2 separate regions of the Homo sapiens genome follow, and region 1 is linked to region 2. The links are contacts of gene promoters, found by promoter capture Hi-C in human tissues and cell types (Jung and others, 2019). All regions are on one chromosome and are shown on one strand. Each heading gives the region's core, a stretch centred on a gene start or on the middle of the fragment in contact. The rest is flanking DNA. Distances are from core to core; before and after follow the strand shown. Region 1 has its middle 19 kb from the start of GGTLC1. Region 2 holds the start of CST5 (cystatin D).

What was found. The method cuts DNA at HindIII sites, captures the fragments that hold promoters and counts their contacts. A contact is called where the count stands out against the background at its distance.
Region 1: a fragment that was not itself captured here is called in contact with the fragment with the promoter of CST5 in region 2 in 2 of the 25 tissues and cell types used here (dorsolateral prefrontal cortex and spleen).

The regions. Positions count from the first base shown.
Region 1 is chr20:23,968,437-23,971,795 of GRCh38, forward strand. No RefSeq gene overlaps it. Among named protein-coding and RNA genes, the nearest start is that of GGTLC1, 19 kb to the right of the region's middle. The HindIII fragment of the contact is 5,449 bases long and covers 1-3,359 here.
Region 2 is chr20:23,878,038-23,881,628 of GRCh38, forward strand. It overlaps CST5 (cystatin D), which reads right to left and starts at 1,711. Exons shown (of 3, transcript NM_001900.5): 1 at 1,409-1,711. The coding sequence starts at 1,639. RefSeq lists an enhancer at 1,204-2,033. The HindIII fragment of the contact is 5,935 bases long and covers 1-3,591 here.

The DNA of each region.
Region 1 (3,359 bases), core at 420-2,919, 90 kb after region 2:
GGCATTGTCTCTGAGCAGAAGCCTAAGGTAGAGAAGGGCTTATTTCAGACTGATTTGTGGGTGTGACTTTTGTCTAATGGAATAACACTCAATGAGATTCACACATTTTTTAAAAAATTATATCTGACAAATCACCATCAGTGTATGAAAGGATCGAAACAGTGCATAATAAGATGGGCCATTCCTCCTAGCAGGAAGCCAGTTGAGAAAATTACTCAGCTGCAAATGTGTGCTACCTTTCATGGAAAAAGAAGGATTCAGATAGTGGAAACAAGAATCCCAAGGACCAGTTGAGGAGGCACAGAGAAGAACAGATGGGCATGAGTAGGACTGAGTCCTAAACATCCAACATTTTTTAAGCTGGATTCCAGAACTGCTGCAGCCAGGGGTGCTGGTGCACCTCTTGTTTCCCTCTTTTTGAATAGGAGGGCTGAAGGTGGTTCTTACTGTTTTATTCTGCTGAGCCCAGAGCTGGCATCACCCCAAAAGTGGCAGCAGAGGAGGTCCCACAACAGAGAGCCCCAAACCCTCCCATGATGGGGCCAGTTGGGATTACAAAGAAAGAAGCACTAAACTTCAGTCCAGAGCATTATTTGGGGAACTTAATTAACAGAGGGCTGCAGCAATCCTCGCGATACACAGTGTGAGAAAAGGCTGCTCTGCCTACACAAGTCCACAGTGAGGGGTCAGGGCATGAGGCCAGTTTCTTTCAGTGTTTGGGGCAACAACCTAGATACCCTTATCAGTGCCTGAAAATGTTCAAGATATAACTTTGTTTGATTTGAGCCTGCTTCGAAGAACCTGTAGCTGTCTGAGTCACAGAGATCAAGACATTCTGTGGTTTTCTGTCCAGACACAGAAGGAAAGAGGGGGTATCTGGGGACTCTACACCTATTCCTGTACCCATTTTATGTTGAGGGGGAAAGATCTGATCTTTTCAATTCAAGAGTTGTGAGGAACTATAACAGACCACGGATTTCAGCTGATGGGATGGGATCACTTTTATAGGAGTCTTGGGAAGGGTTGAGTTATTTTGCATGTCTGATGGACAGAACTCATTGAGGCCAGAGGGAAGATGGTGGCATACAGCCCCTGGGATGGGTCCCAGGCTTCTAATAGTCACATCCCTCAGTGGTTTCCTCCCACAGTGCACCAGCATTGGGATGGCAGAACTGGTGATGTGGTACCTCTGGGATAAGGCAACAAAAGACACTGTGGCTTGCATTTTGGTAGCTCTCTCCCAGCCCACTGTCCACAGGGAAAGCCAACTGCTATGTTGTGAGCAGCCCTATGAGAGGCCCACATGGTGAGGAGCTGGGGCCTCCTGCCCACAGCCATGCAAGAGCATTTAGAAGCAGATCTTGCAGCCCTGATCAAAACCTCAGATGACTGCAACCTTGGATGAAACTTGGCAATAGACCCTGAGCCAGAGCCAACCAGCTAAGATGCTCCTGGACTTCTGACCCATAGCACTGTGAGGTCATGAATTTCACCATGCCTCAGGGTATTTTGTTACATAGCAGTGGATAACTAGTACACAAGGTAGCATTGTGCTGCCCTAAAGCTGACTCTAGATAATGTAATAACGGTCTTGGTCTACAATCTGGTGTGCTGAGGAAGAGCAACTGTGGAGGAGGCTGGGAGCCACTTTAGTAGGTGGTAACTCCCTCAGTGCCATCTGCTAATAGTAGGAGTCAGACTTTGACTACTGTCTCTTGACTCTGCCCTCAGGGGAGGGCCCTTCCGAGGGAGCAGTGGTCAAGAGCAAGGTGCTGTGCCAGGCTGCTGCTGCTGAGAAGCAGGTGCTGGGAGCTGCTGCTGCTAAGAGCATCTGCTCAGAAAGAAGGGTGCCAAGGGCACCTGCAGTAGCTGGGGGAACACCTGGAGGCCCAACTTTACCATTTTCCATGAGGCAGAAACCTTGTTGGTTTACCACTGTAGCCTCAATGGCTCACAAAGAGATAGCTTGCTTTTCAGATTCACCTACCTATAGGATTTACTTTTGACATCTATAGGACAATAGAGATTGGCTCCCAATTTATTGCTTAGGTTTTTTTGTTGTAATTTAAAATGTATAGAAAAGTTGCAAGAGTTGTAGAAGGAGCTCATATATATATATGCAGATTTACTGACAATTTACAATTTGCCAAATTTGGTACCTATTGATCTATTTACTTGAGAGTAAATTGGGGACATTGTGCCCCTTTTATCTTTAAACAGTTCAGCATGTGTTTCTCAAGAAGAAGGATATCCTATTATATAACCACAGTACAGTTTTCAGAGTCAAACAATTTAATATTGATATAATGCCATTATGTAATCCACAGCCCATATTCAGATTTCATCAATTGTCCCCAAAGTTTTCTCTTCCCCTCTCTAAAATCCAATACAGGATTACATGGTCCATTGACTGATGCATCTTCTTGGTCTGTCTTAAACCTAATCACTTTCACAGTCTTTATGTGGGCCTCTTGATCATGGATTTTGTCTTAAAAAAAAAAACAGAGTAAAGCCAGTTACTTTGTAGGATGCCCTTGACATGATTTTTCAACTTCACGATTAAATTCACATGATGTATTTTTTGGCAGGAATGCCACAGAGGTGGCACTTTGTCCTTCCCAGTGCACACATGAGAAGACGCATGACCATGGCTGCCCCTACGTTAGCGATGTTAACCTTCATCCCCGGGTTAAGATGGTGACTCCTGGGGTTCTCCAAAAAGAGGCTATCAATTTCATCTTTATAATTAGTAGGGATCTAGCAGGGAGATGTTTGGAGACTATGTAACTATCTTGCTCCTCATCAACCTTTAATCCAGTAGTTTTATTATTCATTGATGTTCTAACTTTACTTTTTCCACATTTATTTGTTCATATTCCTATCAGAAAAAATACTTTCTTCTCATTTGTTTATTACTTTGTGCATTCATAACAATAAGAACTTTTGATGCTTATTTTATTCTATATGTTATGGTACCTAACTAGTATAATTCATATTGTTGCTGTATTGTCAGATGTGCTCAGCAGGAGGCCTGTCAGCAACCTCCTGTATCCTTTGGCATGACCTCATGCTTCTTGAAGAACTTCCTTATTTTATGGCTTAACATGATGTTTTGGTTTCAATTTATTTTTTCTTAAGAGCAAAGCAATAATTTCTTACTGGGCCCCTGGTGGGGTTATTAGCCTATAAAGAACTCTACAGTATGGACTCCTTGAAATACATCCTCAGGCCCTTGTATTCTTTATACAGTTAAAAAATAAGGCATACATTCCCTCCCATGGGACTTTGTGTGAAATGGAAGCTTTGAAATGTGAAAACCTTCACCTCAGAGGAACAGCTGGTGAAGAGATACCATTAAG
Region 2 (3,591 bases), core at 461-2,960:
CTGAATTCTGCTACCTGTGCTCAGGGGGCAGGGACACTGGTCCCATCCTAGGAAGGCTGCCACCTGATGATGAAATTTCAGCTAACTTCCAGCTCCTGGCATTCAGTCCACAGAGCATCTCATTCCTGCCATTTAACCCAGAGGTATTTTTCCTCATTTCTCAGTAGGAGATGAGATGCTCACATACATTGATGTTTTAGGCCAATAAACATTGCCTCCTGCATGCCTCCATTCCAGGTGTGATTTTCAAGGCAATATTTCTAAAGTGAGTCACACACCTGCATGTCTTAGGGTTGCAACTTCAGAAGAGAACTGAATGCTTTCCCTGCACAGTGCCGCCCCAAAACATGACTTGTCAGAACTGTGGAGAAGCATGGGATGAGGGACCCTGGGACCAGGGTGCTAGACCTTGCCCTGTGGAACCACACACAAGTCCTGTAGAACCACATGGAAGTCCTGTGATCCCTCCGGTGTCAGTCTGCTGCTCTGTAAAATAGGCTCCAGGGCCCAACGATCTACATCATTCTGTGCTTCACTCCCAGTGAGTGACACACTTAAGAGGGAGTGCAGGCCAGCAGGGACCACAGCACCAGGGAATGCCCCTCCTGTGCAGGGAGAGGGCTGCAGGAGGAGAAACAGGGCTGGTCTGGACTCCTCTGACTTTCCAAGAGAAGGTGGAGGAGCTCTAAAGGCTGGCAGGCCATATAGCCCTGTGGTCGCTGTGTCACTGCTGCTCTGCCATGGGACGTAGGTCAAGCTGGGCTCGGTAGCCCTGCTGAAGCTTCCTCCCTCTGGACCCAACCACCTCCTTCACTCTGCTGGGTGATTGCTGTCCTCATTTTGCTGAGGTCTAACTCTGCGTTAGCTGGCAGAGGCAGGGTCAGGCATGCTCTACCCCAGCAGGAACTCAGCTGTCCTGGGCTGTAGGGGGTGGTCAGCCAGCCTGAGAGTGAAGGCCACTAGCCATAACGGGCTGTGCCCAGGGGCGTGACTTGGGAGGGAAGCGGGGCTATCCAGGACAAGGAGTCAGGTTCCCGTGTGGCCCCTGTGGAGAGGACTCAGGGAGGAAGATGAACCTCGTGGCCTGGATCTCATCCTGAGCAGCATCAAGCCCACCCAGAGTCAGCACAGTCTCCATCCACACCTGCTGGACCCTGGGAAATGCCACAGTCATGGTACAGACACAGTGGCTGCTGCAGGTTAAAAGAGGCCGAGGGGACAGGACAGGGCTGAACTCATGCACTCACGGCCAAGGAGTGTCCTAGGGCATGAAGACCATCAGCAGACAGTCAGAGAAAGCTGAATGAGTCTGCGGTTTAGATAATGTTGATTTGCTGGGAGTGCTCTGGGGGGTGAGGCAAAAAACCCAGCTGGGACTCAGGACCCCCAGGGTGGTGGTAGCACGCACCTGCTGGTAGGCAGCCATCACCTGCAGAGGGCGGCTGTAGTACTCATCCTTATTAATGACCTTGTTGTACTCGCTGATGGCAAAGTCCAGGGCACACTGCACACTCTTGTCATTGAGGTCTGTGGCATGGATGCCACCTGCCAAGGTCCTAGATTGGGCCGAGGCACTCCCGGCCACGGCCACCATCAAGGCAGTCAGCAGCAGCAGTGGGGTGTGCATGGGCCACATCATGTTCTACTGGGACACAGAGCAAGGAGCTGGATCTCCCAGAGAGCAAAGCAGCAGAAGGCTGAGGCAGGAAGCCCAGGCCAGAAGCTAGCTGTGCATTTATCCTACTTGGGTGTCCCCCAACCCCACCTGCTCCCTGGCCCCGCCCCTGGCTCCTCCTCCTCTTTCTACCCCTCCTCTTCTGTCTCTATCTCCCTTTCCACCCCCAACCACCTCCCTCCCTCCCTAAGTTCCCTTCGCTCCTCCCATGCCTCCTCCTCATCCTCCTCCCCACTCCTGTCCTGACCGCAACCTCCCCACAGCCCTGCCCCTCTTCCTCAGTGCTCTAAAGCTTGGCTCACTCTGGATTCCAGAGAGGTGACACCGCTCCCTGGGCTGTGAAACCTGGTGACCACCTATGTCCACAGGAAAGGGAGAAATACAGGGCTTGGCCTTCTAAAGTCTTCAGATGTCAGGGGCATCCAGGAGCACGTGGTCATGGTCTGGGAATTCCTGGGGCAGGGAGCTGTTTCAGAAGCTCCGGGATGACCTTGTCCATGCCCTCTTCTGGGGAACTTCTTTGCCAAACATAAAGTAATTAACCTTTGGGTAAAGTTCACTGGGTTCTCGTTTCATAACTCCTCATTATTCAATAAACAAACCTGTCACCAGCTTCCCCCTGCACCAAGCAGTCTGGGCAATAGAGCCGTAGACATGAACTTGCAGAGCTGCCATCCAACAGAGATGTGACAGAAACCCAGGAGCAATTTAAAACACATTTGAAAAAGTTAAAAGATACAGCTGAAAGTAATTTTGGTATTTCTACTTTAACCTAATATATCCAAAATACTTCAACACTTCAGGACTATTCTTAAGGAGCTAGTTTACATTCTTTTGTGTGAGTGTAATGTCTTGAAGTTCCCTGTGTATTTTTTACAGTTAGACCAAGCGTCACTGTGGACTAGCCCCATTTCAAGTGCCCTGTGGCCACGAGTGGCTGCTGGTGGCTGTGGTACTGCATAGCCCAGCCATTAGGGTGTGTGGGAGGATGCAGAGTGGTGATCAACAATTTAGATCAGGGAATTATAGTCGCTCAGTTAGAGAGAGGGTGGGTGCTACTGGACCCTGGTCAGGGAAGTCTCTAAGAGACCGGAAAGGTTGAGAAGCCCCAGGCAGCAGGGAATAGTCAGTGCAAAGGCCCTGAGGCAAGGCTGGGCATGCCTGCTCCAGGAAGAGGAAGCTCCTGGAGGGGGTGTGAGCAGGGAAGGGAACGACCTGGAGTCTCACGGTAACTGTGGGTGTGTCCAGGTGGAAGGCGCAGGGAGACCCCTGGCAGGTGGTGGGGGTGTCAGGAGAAGGAGCAGCAGCCACAGGATGAATGTGGGAGCCCAAGAGCCTCTCTTGCTCCTCCCCTCTGGGAGACGTGCTGCCAGCACTGGTCCTCTGTACACTGCTTGGAAAACTCATGTAATATTTTAAAAATTACATTGAATGAGGTAGAATTTACACACAATAAAATGCCTAATTGTATGTGCCCAATCTGGGGGATTTCATAAATGCATACACTTGTGTTACCACTTTGTCCACACCTGTGATATCTGCCTCACCCCAGATGGTTTCCTCCTGCCTCTGAAGCCCACCCTCATGCCCACCCGACCCTGGCAGCCCACATCTGGTCCTGTGGACTCCTTTGTTGCCTGTCCTTGAGCTTCCCAGGAATGGAATCCTGCAGAGAGAGCCCAGGTGTGTCTTCGTCCTTTGCTCAGCGTGGCTTCATTGCCAGGATTGAGAGTTCTCCTTCTCCACAGACTGAGAGGATGTGGTCAGTTGGGTGCCCTGTGGGCTGACAAAGCCCCCAGCTCGGGATGCTGTGGGCCTGGACTGGAATGTGACTTCAGGAGTAGGGAGGGTGGAAGGAGGCTCTGAACAGACAGCTGCTCCCTTTGTTCTCTCAACCCCCCCTCCATGCCTGAAGG